Regions from separate parts of the Homo sapiens genome. Here region 1 is linked to region 2. Evidence: promoter capture Hi-C in 16 types of primary human blood cells and fetal thymus (Javierre and others, 2016). All regions are on one chromosome and are shown on one strand. Each heading gives the region's core, a stretch centred on a gene start or on the middle of the fragment in contact. The rest is flanking DNA. Distances are from core to core; before and after follow the strand shown.

Evidence for each region. Contacts are between HindIII fragments. The CHiCAGO score rates a contact against its expected background, and 5 or more counts as called.
Region 1: a fragment that was not itself captured here is called in contact with the fragment with the promoter of KCNJ13 in region 2 in 1 of 17 cell types (M2 macrophages); the score reaches 5.2 in M2 macrophages.

The regions. Positions count from the first base shown.
Region 1 is chr2:233,516,002-233,522,747 of GRCh38, reverse strand. It overlaps USP40 (ubiquitin specific peptidase 40), which reads left to right. Exons shown (of 32, transcript NM_001365479.2): 17 at 1,634-1,757; 18 at 3,077-3,134. Among named protein-coding and RNA genes, the nearest start is that of USP40, 47 kb to the left of the region's middle. The HindIII fragment of the contact is 7,221 bases long and covers 1-6,746 here.
Region 2 is chr2:232,772,082-232,777,948 of GRCh38, reverse strand. It overlaps KCNJ13 (potassium inwardly rectifying channel subfamily J member 13), which reads left to right and starts at 1,384. Exons shown (of 3, transcript NM_002242.4): 1 at 1,384-1,504. The region is part of intron 8 of GIGYF2 (GRB10 interacting GYF protein 2); the gene reads right to left. The HindIII fragment of the contact is 5,243 bases long and covers 1-3,169 here.

The sequences.
Region 1 (6,746 bases), core at 2,016-4,515, 740 kb before region 2:
GACAACTCATTGTTTCCTTATAATCCGTTCTGTGACTCTTGAGAACCCAGTTGCCCAAATAGAGCAGTTACGTGGCGAATTACCCCCATGAATCCTGTGGTCACATTTAAAGCTGCATCTCTTTGTCATCTATGTCTGTGACAGTACATTGCTGTAGTCAATGTGTCATACACTGTAACTGCAATATTTCCATATATTGAAGACTTCAAGCTCCCTGTTTTCTCAGTGCTACAGATTTACTTAGATTGCAGGATGTCTGTATCATTATTTATAGTGGCTTTGATGCAGAGAAGCAGAGCACTTGTGGACCGTTTCTTTCGTAGTACACTTACCACTATTACTCTTTTGGACAGGGGTTTTGCAGACATTCCCTACCTTGTTTATAAGAACTGTATTTCCTTTATAAAAGGCAGTATGCATTTATTGGGACTGGGGAAATACAAAAGTGAAGACAGAAGGGACCCAAAACAGTATCCGTCTTCTCAGCATGCAGTGTTAATCACTGTTAGCATTTGGGTGCCTTTCTTTTTAAACCTAATAATGATTATTTTGTAGATAAGTAGTTGTATCCTGCTTTCCATTACCCCTGCCCAACCTTGAGATTTGTAGACTCTTTATAAACTGCCTTGAATGGCTACATAGTAATCTATGTGACATTATAGTTTGCCTAACTGTGCTCCTAGGCAAGTCAGTAGGCTGTAGTGGGACCTTGGGCAAGGTATTTCGTCTTTCTCTGCTCAGTCTTCTTGTCTGTCAAATAGGGATAATAACTAGTGCCAACTTCATAGACTTGAGAGGATTGAAAGAGTTGAGTGCTTACAAAGTACACACAGTAAGTGCTAAATGTTTTAGTTAATATATTACGGTCATTGTCATAATTATCATACAGTTTTTCACTATTTTAAAGTAGTCTTCATGGAGCATCTTGTGCTTCATACTTTGTTTTATTTGGGATTGCTAGCTTAAGGTAGGAGCTCAGAATGGAATAACTGCAATAAAGAGTAGAATGATGTTTCAGAGCTCTAATGTACATTCCCAAAGAGGACTTCGGCAAGCCCATTAATGCTTCTGTGTGAATTAGAAAGAAGGCACCTCTTCAGGACCCTTTACTACTATCTGTGGGAAAATGTTAGAACAAGATACTCTACTGCCGGCTGCAATTATAAAACAAAACTCTATGTAGAAATGCAGTATACAATATATATGCCATGTGTGACACTCCTTAGATGTGGCCCTTTTGTGCAGTGTCAGTCTACAGACTGCACATGGCTGCCCTGTTGTTAAATGAAATCTAGATCCAGTGGGGTAGGCTCCTGGCATAGGTGCTCTTTTAAAGCTCCCCTAGTGATTTGCAGGGTGCAGGCAGAAGCCAGCAACTGTTTACTTACAGAAGTTCTCTGTGAAAAATGTGGCAACAAATTATGTAGGTAAATCAAAGAATATTTGGAGTCATGAATATAGACTCTATAGACTACTGCCTAACATTACCCTGCAAAGGTAGCCCACTTATCATAGAGACGACTCAGTAGAACTTGGTCACCTCTAATTAGTCACATTAAGTGACACATGCAGAGTTTTGGAAGTGATGCCTAAGGAAAGGTATTAATTTCTGATCTTTTCTTTTTACCTACAGCTTGTTGACCAAGGAAGAGAAATGGGTCACTAGTATGAATGAGATTGACTGGCTCCACGTTAAAAATTTATGCCAGTTAGAATCTGAAGAGAAGCAAGTTAAAATATCAGCAACTGTTAACACAGTGAGTAGAATATAATTAAAGGTTGGCTGATAGATTTTCAGTTAACAGAATTTTATTTAGAAAACAATACCTTAATCTTTCAGAACAGTTGTCTCAATAGACTTCAGCTCTTAGGAAGTCAGCTTTTTATTTAACATTTGATTATTGCTTGTTTACCTATGTTAGCCCTTAGCATATTTCAAGAAAATACGTGCCTTTTAAAATTTCCTCCAAAGCCTAGAATTAGAATGTGGGAGTTACTCATTTAGTTAGTTCATGGAATTCTCTGGCTCCCACAAAATGAAATTCTTTGGCTTCCTTGAAAATGCTGTTTTCAAGGGTCTTTTCTGTATTTTTTTTAAGCCAAGTATACATATGTTTTGGTTTTGTGTTGTGGACTTCTGTTTTTTAAATTTATCTTAAATTGTTTTACATTATACTCTGTTTTTCTGTAAAGCCAGGTGTTCTTAAAAGGAACTCTTTCAGTTCTCCATTTGAAGACTAGTTTCGTTAAACACCATCTCAGGAAATACCTTTTTATATTTATGTAGTCTCAATTCATTATGGGTTTTTTTTCTATAACAAGTTGAAACTTACTAGAATGTTGTTTTCTTTTATATAAATATTATAATTTCTTAAAGTGTGTTAATATTTACACTGTATGATGAATACACTAAAGTTCAGAAGATCTAGTACCTTGACCCTAAGTGAGAGACTTTGGTGAAGTCCTTTATGACTCACTCTGTTTCTTCTTTTCACAATGTGGGGTGCTGTGGGAGGACAGATTGTCTGACATCGGTTTTACTCCTAAATTTACAAGATTTTGTATCCTAGAGGAAATTAGGTTAAACTGAAAAAGGGAAAGAATCTAAAATAAAGTCATTTAAACAGAAATTTTAAATAGTGCACTCGGGCTGATAGTATACATTTTTATTTATGCTTACTGGCCCCACATTCATCATTCCTGACATAGAGAAATGTGATTGCCTGCAGTTTATTTTGTTTGCTTTCATGAGAAAAGTTACTGGTTTGTCAGCTTATTGCCTTTCAGCTAGTTTCTTTAGTTTCTGTAGTTTTCTACAGTTTCTGTAGTTTTCTGTAGGTGTCCTTTCTGTTCCAATTAACATCAATTTGGTAAAAACTTAACTATGAAGTCCTAAGTTTTTGCTTTTGATCTTATAAAAGGATTTCAGGGATGGAAAAATTTCCAGTGGGCAAAAACTACTAAATGTCAGGTAATTAATATCTCAAATAATTTGTTTATGCACACAGTGACAATCCTCATTTTCATCTCCTCCCATTTTTTACAACTTAGTCATTATTTTATTTCTCTGTTTTAGATGGTGTTTGATATTCGAATTAAAGCCATAAAGGAATTAAAATTAATGAAGGAACTAGGTAATCATTTACATTTTCTTTTCGGTTCTTAGTTTAGCTTAATTTTGGTCTTGAATTGAAGAAAATATAGGAGAATACAAAAAACAGTTTAGGGAGAACTCACATACCTACCACCCAAAATGGACAAATATTAACATTTTGTCATATGTTTGTTTTTGTTTGAAACATTATAAATGAAGTTAAAGTCCCCTGTGTTCTCCTCCTCAGACCTATTCTTTCTCTCCTTCCCCAGATACAATGAGTATATCTGATGTGGGTGTGTATCTAGTCCATGTATTCATGTTGTACTATACTGAATGTATATTCTGCAAACTCACTATTCACTTACCATTAGGCTTTCTGTGACAGCCTTATTAAGATATAATCTACATACCATAAAATTCACTCAGTTTAAGTGTTTAATTCAGTAATCATCAGTAAATGTGTAGAGTTCTATAACCATCACCACAATCCAGTTTTAGAATACTTCCATTACTCCAAAAATATCCCTGTACCCATCTGTATTCCAAGCCCCTGGCAACCACTAATCTGCTTTCTGTCTCTATAGACTTTATTTTCTTAATGTTTAATGTAATTGGAATCATAAAACATATAGTCTTTTGTGTCTGGCTTCTTTCACATAGCATATCATTTTTGAGGTTAGTCCATGATTTAGTACGTATCAATAGCTTGTTCCTTTGCATTGCTGACTAGTCTAGTATTCCATTATATGGATAGTATCACATTTTGTTTATCCTGGACAAACATGAATTGATAGACATTTGGATTGTCTCTACTTTTGTGCTTTTATGAATAATGCCACTATGAACTTTTACACATAAGTCTTGGTGAGGAGATATGTTTTCATTTCTCTTGGGTACATGTACCGGATTGGAATTGCTGGGTCATTTGCAAATTTATGTTTAACTTTATAAGAAACTCTCGCACTATTATCCAAAGTGACTGAACCATTTATACTCCCACTAGCAGTGTGTCAGGGTTGCAGTTTCTACATGTCCTTGTCAATCTGTGATTAATTGTGATTATCTTTTTTTTTTTTTTTTTTTTGAGACAGAGTCTCACTCTGTCAGCCAGGCTGGAGTGCAGTGACACGATCTCCGCTCACTGCAACCTCCGTCTCCCAGGCTCAAGCAATTTTTCTGCCTCAGCCTCCCAAGTAGCTGGGATTACAGGCGTGTGCCACCACGCCCAGCTAATTTTTGTGTTTTTAGTAGAGACAGGGTTTCACCATGTTGGCCAGGCTGGTCTCAAACTCCTGACCTCAGGTAATCTGCCCACCTCGGCCTCCCAAAGTGCTGGGATTACAGGCATGAGACACTGAGCCCAGCCATCTTTTTTTTTTTTTTTTTTTTTTTTTTTTTTAGAATCTGTTACTGGTTTGGTTTTGACTTTTAAAAAAAAAAACATATTTTGAGCACATTTTTTATTGTTATTTTTTCCATAGGTTATTGGGGTACAGGTGGTGTTTGGTTACATGAGTAAATTCTTTAGTGGTGCTTTGTGAGATTTTGGTGCACCTATCACACGAGCAGTATACACTACACCCTATTTGTAGTCTTTTATCCCTCATCCCCCTCCCACCCTTCCCCCCAAGTCCCCAAAGTCCACTATATCATTCTTGTGCCTTTGTGTCCTCATAGCTTAGCTCCCACGTATCAGTGAGAACATACGGTGTTTGGTTTTCCATTCCTGAGTTACTTCACTTATAATAATAGTTTCCAATCTCATCTAGGTCACGGCAAATGCCATTAATTCATTCCTTTTTATGGCTGAGTGGTATTCCATCATACACACACACACACACACACACACACACACACACACACACACACCACAGTTTCTTTATCCACTCATTGATTGATGGGCATTTGGGTTGGTTCCATGATTTTGCAATTGCAAACTGTGCTGCTATAAACATGCATGTGCAGGCCGGGCACAGTGGCTCACGCCTGTAATCCCAGCACTTTGGGAGGCCGAGGCGGGGAGACCACAAGGTCAGGAGATCAAGACCATCCTGGCTAACATGGTGAAACCCTGTCTCTACTGAAAAATACAACAAAAATTAGCCAGGCGTGGTGGTGTGCGCCTGTAGTTCCAGCTACTGGGGAGGCTGAGGCTGGAGAATGGCGTGAACCCGGGAGGCAGAGCTTGTAGTGAGCCGAGATCGCGCCACTGCTCTCCAGCCTGGGTGACAGAGCGAGACTCCGTCTCAAAAAAAAAAAAAAAACAAAAAACCATGCATGTGCAAGTATCTTTTTTGTATAATGACTTCTTTTCTTCTGGGTAGATACCCAGTAGTGGGATTGCTGGATCAAATGGTAGTTCTACTTTTAGTTCTTTAAGGAATCTCCACACTGTTTTCCATAGTGGCTGTACTAGTTTATGTTCCCACCAGCAGTGTTGAAGTGTTCCCTAATCACCATATCCACACCAACATGGCCATTCTACTGAATGTGAATTAGTATCTTAATGCATGTAAATTTAGCAAGAACTCAAAATCATATACAGAAATTCATTGCCTTTTTACCTACCAGCAACAACAACAACAAAATCGACATCAAAATTAAGAAAACATTTATAATAGCATAAAATATTATGGGATACTTAGACATAAATGAACAAAATATGTGCAAGACCTGTACACTAAAAACTAGAAAATACTGCTGTGAGATATTTAAGAAGACCTGAATAAATAAAGCAATATACAACATTCACAAATCAGACAACACAATATTCTTTTTTTTTTTTTTTCAATTCGAGACGGAGTCTTGCTCTGTCCCCAAGGCTGGAGTACAGGGCAGCAATCTTGGCTCACTACAACCTCTGTCTCCTGGGTTCAAGCGATTCTCTTGCCTCAGCCTCCCGAATATCTGGGTTACAGGCACCTGCCACCACGTCCAGCTAATTTTTCTTTTTTTTTTTTTTTGAGATGGAGTCTCGCTCTGTCACCCAGGCTAGAGTGCAGTGGTGCGATCTTGGCCCACTGCAACCTTTGCTTCCCGGGTTCACGCCATTCTCCTGCCTCAGCCTCTCGAGTAGCTGGGACTACAGGTGCCCGCCACCAGGCCCGGCTAATTTTTAGTGGAGACAGGGTTTCACCGTGTTAGCCAGGATGGTCTTGATCTGCTGACCTCGTGATCCGCCCGCCTAGGCCTTCCAAAGTGCTGGGATTACAGGTGTGAGCCACTGCACCTGGCCAGATGATACAGTATTCTTAAGAGGATAATTCTTCCCCATTTGATGTGTAGATTTAATATATTCTTACACAGAATCTTAACATTTTTTAAAGAAATTGACAAGCTGACTCTACAATTTTCATGGAAATACAAATAATTTAAAGTGGCCATAACACTTTTGAAAACAAGAGAACAAAGTTGGAAGAGTTACACTATCTGATTTCAAGGCTTACTCTAGACAGTGTATATTGGCATACAGGTAGACATATAGAGAGGAGGTCAGCAAACTATGGCCTACAACCTGTTTTTTTTCAGCCAGTGGGCAAAGAATGGTTTTCGCACTAGTAAAGGGCTGTTTAAACAAGAAGCATGTGCAACAGAGATCACATGTGGCCCGTGAAGCCTAAAATATTTACAGTGGAACTCAGAGAATCTA
Region 2 (5,867 bases), core at 135-2,634:
AAAAAATATACAATGTATATTCAAAACACATGACAGATACACTCAAGTGCTTCTGCTTTCTAGAAGCAGTATTATACTATACTTGTTCTAGTATTTTGTTGTTGTGTTGTTCTGTTTTTCTGCAATTTGTTAGCTGGGAATTGATACACATTATAATTCCTACCAGTACATGCAGGGAATGAGCATCACACCACAAATCCTTCTTTATACTTTACCTTCCCTAGTTCTGAAGGTCAGTGTTTCTAATGCTGTGTCTGAACTTGTGTTGAAGTATTTGGTACTAATAAAACAAAGAAGGAATTAATATATTTTTTAAATTGTGGGGCGGGGGGGGGACGGAGAGGATTCTACAAAGGCGGATTTCACTTTCTAAGTAGCATTATATTGGTCTACATTAATAATTTTCCCAGCAGGCCTTCCAAGATTTTACTTTGAACAATCACAGTCTTTGTTTCTCAGATCCTCTTACATGTGACATTTGGTCAAAGTTTTAAAATCAGCAGCTAACGGAGGAGGAGAAAAGTACTGTTCACTAAGGCACTGCACAAAGCCATACCACAGCACGTTTCAGGGTTCCAACAAGCTGGATCACATTTTCCAGCTAAACACTATTTCAATGTTGTGTTACATTTTCTGTACACTGTACACTATGTTTTATTAACACTATACTTCATCACACTGATCAGGAAAACATCTTCTAAACATCATTAAAATAAGCCTTAAGAAAATTCTTCGGTTCTTTCCCACAGGTGTGCATTTTTTAAAGTATCAGGTACAGAACAATTAATTTTATTCCTATTCAAGGTCTTTGTATACAGCCTTTAAAAAAAAAAAGTTTGTTTCCTAACCAAAAAAATAAAAGATTTCACGTAATTATCTATATTACTAGTTCTGGAACTAATGGTAGCCATTCTGATGAGACATGAGAAGAAAACTAAGAAAATCAATGCATTAATTTATGCCTATAAGTCCTTATCCAAATAAATCTTCCCCAAAGACATGGTGGAAAAAAAAAAAGATTAGTAAAGGAAATATCTCACACTTCAACATGCTATATAAGGAAAGACGGCTGAAAAATCTTGCAGGGAATTTTATCCCTTTGAACTTTCAAAAAAACTCTTAAGTAAGATTATGCAAACTTACTAAAGACCGGTCCTGATTAGAGGGAAAAAATGCACCCCTTCTCCAAGTCAGTTCTGGAGGCTTTCTCCAGAGTTGTTAAGGTTTGTGTTGGGTAAAGAAAGACCTCCTAACAAACCAGCATTCTTTTCCACATGATCAGAGCTAATTGGCCCCCCTGCAGGCTAAGTGACCAATCACATCAACCTCAGCTGAAACCAGCCCCCACAACATTATAAACAGAGGAATGTAAGCTGTAAAACCAGTCCAAGAAGAGAACCTACAAACTAGACTTGTAGATTAAAATTATCTGATCAAAAAGGCAGACTCTGTAAATTTCCTTAAGACCTACCTTGGCATAAAGGCTGACCCAGCAAAAGAACTGGTGAGTACATGCAATAATATCCATTCTTCTTTCCTTATGGGAAACAGGGAAAGAAACTGACTGGCAAATAGCAACAGAGCTAGATTACTTCCAACAGATTTTTAAAACAAAGACATTATCTATAGTGTAGGATAGTAAGGTTTCTATATTCTTTTCCCTTAAATCTTAAAAATGCAATAACAGCCATATTGAATGTATTACTGGAAATTTTCTTAACTGTTTTATTAAATGTATACTAATTTTCTATTACAATATATCAGTAGAGGATAAAGGCCTTAGGAAAAAAAATTCAGTGGCTTGAGGAAAAAAAAAGTCTTTTTCTTTTGGAAGGAATTTCAAAAACCCAAAATGAGCATAAAAAAACAAATGCCAAAAGAATAAGCCACTTTGTTTTTACTTCTGTAATCTAAGAAGAAAGTGATGAGTATCCTAATCGTAAATTTTTAAGCATGGAATTATTGCGGAAATTAATAGATACTTCTGCAACTGAGAAATTAAAATAGAATCTCTGAGCTTATATAACAGGGTTAGAACTCAATAGTGTTTGCCCTAATTGTGGAGGGCAGGAGAAATCATTATAAGACTTTCAATATAGTCTTAAAGTATTTACACCAGACATGAACAAATACATAGTAATGCCATCTTCATTTAATGTTTGTTAGTTATAGCCTTTATCTTAACTCCTCAGTATGAACTATACTATTTTTTATCATGGCAACAGAAAATACATACTTTTAAGTGCTACAACCCAATGAGTAGAATGAATTCTGATGATCAGTGAAGCTGCCTATCATTTTTTAATAGGTACTATTTTTCCTCCAAATAATTTATAAATGGGCAAATATTTTACAGCCCACACACAGCAATAGAAGCAAACCTTCCCAACCTTCCACCTCACTTTCTATTGGGATCAGCTGATGAGACTTAAATATCAGGTAACAATAGTATAATTTTTTAAACCATACGAGCAGACATCAAACTATACAGAAATAAAAGAAATCATATAGGAAACTTGTATCCTTTGTAGGAAGTGGAAATATGTTTGTTTACATAAGTCTGTAGAGCTTTAAGAAATCTTATTATCATAATTCCCTCTTTTTTCACTTTCTTTGTTTTAATCTAAGGATGCCAGGCCAATGGGATTGAGTGGTTTGCCCAAAATGACACAGCTATGTAACCAACAGTGCTAGAGCCTGAAGGCCATATCCCCTTATCCTGCGTTCTCTACACTAAACCACACTGACTATAAGAGTCCACAGAATAGTTATTCAGGGTAATTGGTTAAGTGGGAATCAGAAATCAATCTTCCTTCTCTATATTACTCCACTTGCCAACACAATCCAAACCAAATCCAGCAGTCTTAGGTTAAAAAAAAAAAAATGCTGCTTAACTGTTCCGATTATCAGCCTTTTGACTTCCCTGTTCACAGGTTTTTCCATGTATTTAGTTGCAAGAGAAAAAAAATACAATTGTAAAGAGCCTAGAGTAAGAGTGCTACAAAAGTTGTAGGTAAGAAGTAACAACAGTCCTGAAAAAGCCCAAATGAGAATGATGAATTTTGTTAGCTACAGTCTATACAGAAAGGCTCTAAGTAAGGAATTTTAGAACTTTCATAAAATAGGTTGAAAATACAAAAGAATCATGGAGTTTTTTCTTTCTCAAGCTTTTGTGAAACACTAAGCACTTAGCAGCATTCAGTAGGACAGTGGCTCCAAATGTGGAACAAGCACTAGTGTCCAGGAGCATGAGGGGCATTTTCACATAGGCAGGAAGCAACAACAGTGGAGAATGACAAAGTTGTTCACCCACCATTTTGAAGGCAACCAACTATCCTTTCATTGTTATATCCTTCTTCCATGTGTCAAAATCTTTTATTATGTCATCATAATTTTATTTATAATGACAGTATTATACTTGTAAAATTGTCTTCTCATCTGGCAAAACAGAAACTTGGCAATGTTATGTCATAACTCTCCTCTCTACATTGCTTTAATTTTACTGATGTGCAAAACACAACTGGACTATCTAATAATTCAGACTGTGATAATCTTCAAGTCTTGAAAGAAGTCTTTCCTAACTGAATATCTGTTTCTAACCTACAAATAATAGGTCTGAACCCAATAAACATTACTGAAGAACAAACACTCTGGAGCGGCTCTTGAACAAAACTAATCAAATGAAACTGTATTATTCACAAAGGCTAAGCAGGGTCAAACATCTGTTTTGGAGGCAATATGGCACTAACTCTGGACTCAGAATGTATAATATTCATATCCACCACTTACTACCTCATTATACCTCATTTTCTTTCTTTTTTTTTTTTCTTTTAGAGACAGGGTCTCGCTATGTTGGCCAGATCGGTCTTGAATTCCCGACCTCAAGCAATCCTCCCGACTCAACGTCCCAAAGTGCTAGTGTTACAGGCATGAGTCACCATGCCTGGTTCCTCACTTTCGTTATCTGTAAAATGGGACTAATAGTGATACTTATTACTGTGAAACTTAAGACACCTTTTTTTTTTTTTTTTTTTTTTTAAATAGAGACAAAGTCTCACTACGTTGCCTAGGCTGGTCTCTAACTCCTGGACTCAAGCAATCCTCCTGTCTCGGCCTCCCGAAGTGCTGGGAGCCAGACACGTTTTTAATAACAATAAAGCAACTAATACTTTACTGAGAGCTTACTCTGTGCCACTGGCTTCACATCAGTTTGTACATATGAAGTATTTGGTATGATTCCTGGCACATGCTAAACAATATATATATTAGCTAATATTATTAATCATTACTATCTAAAGAATCATGAACAAAGTTAACAATGGTTTAATACAGATACTTGAGACAGTTTCAGGGGCAAGAAAGGCATCTACTAAAGGTGCTAGAAATTTGGCTATCAAAGACCTTCTTGAGAATGCAATATCAATCATTTTTGGAAAGACTGTTATTTCACCAAACGCTTCCTGTATTAAAAAAAAAAATTAACTGGCTTTGAAGTTAGCTAGACTTGAATAACCATCCAAATAATCCAAAGCTCCTATTTGCCTTGTGTAAATTTCTTTTATCTGTCTGAGCACCAGTGACTTCATCTGAAAATGGGAACAATGGCTATCTTGTTGAGATACTGAAGAATTAAGAGATAATACAGTATGAAAGCAGTTATCACAGTGCCTATGAAGATTTTGTTGTTTCCAAAGCGTAGAGATCAGGTCTCCTAAAACATTTAAAAATAATCTAACAAAATAAGGGTCATTAAGTAGCTATGCCAAGAAAAAAGAATACACTAAATGATTATGACAACTTGTTAGGGTAATAAGTTATAAAACATTAAAATAATGCACTAAGATTTTTTAAAGTCTATATCATATGAAACTGAAATCGCCATCTAACCTAAATAAACTGAACAATCATCCCAGTGTTCCATTAGCTCAAATCTGAAGAAAATACAAAAAAAAGTCTCTAATCACCAATAAATGTTAAGTTACCTCAGAGCAAAAGAAAGTTGTATATACCCAGGTGGCCAATATCCAATTCCAACAACACAGAAAGGCAGTCTCCAAAGCCTCAAAGTCCCGAGATATAGGAACTAGGAAACCCAAGCAACAACCTAGCTCCACAAGTCTGTAGTGCCCTTCTCAAGCCCCATTAAAAGGCAGGAAGTGGGTATGCAGCACTCTCAAGGGTATCTACCTCTAAAGGAAGAAGCAAAGAGGACAGTCAAATATAAACTCATAGTCCTGAATTGTAGCAAACAAGAGAGGCTCACTCAAGGGAAGCAAAGCTGCATTTCCTGTTCTGTTCCTAGTAACTGCTACACTAAAGTCTTAAGACACCTTTGTCATACGCAAGGATGATTACAAGGAAGGCACACATTAGATTTCTACTCACCACCTTGAGAAAAGGATAACCACTGATGAAAACTGTTTGCAGCAGAAAACTAATTATACTAATGTTATCTTTTTAAAATTCTTATTTAACCCCTTAATGATTATTTTAGTTCATTGAACTATTCAACCTTTTTCTTCTAGTTTACTTACTTTTAAAGCTAATGCTATCCAGAAATGTCTTCCTGGAATTTCTTATTTTGCCAAGAAACAATTCTCTTTCTACCCCCCAATCTAATCAGAGCCTAGAATATGCAAAGAGATAGCAATCCATCATCCAGGACAGAAAGAATCCACGAACATGGTTGCAAAGTGACAAAAACAAATAAAGCCTAATCATAAAACTCTAAATAAGACCAGGTATGGTGGCTCACCCCTGTAATCCCAGCGCTTTGGAAGGCTGAAGTGGGAAGATGGCTTGAGAACAGGAGTCTGAGACCAGCCTAGGCAATATATTGAGCCCAGTACCAACAAAAATTAAAATTC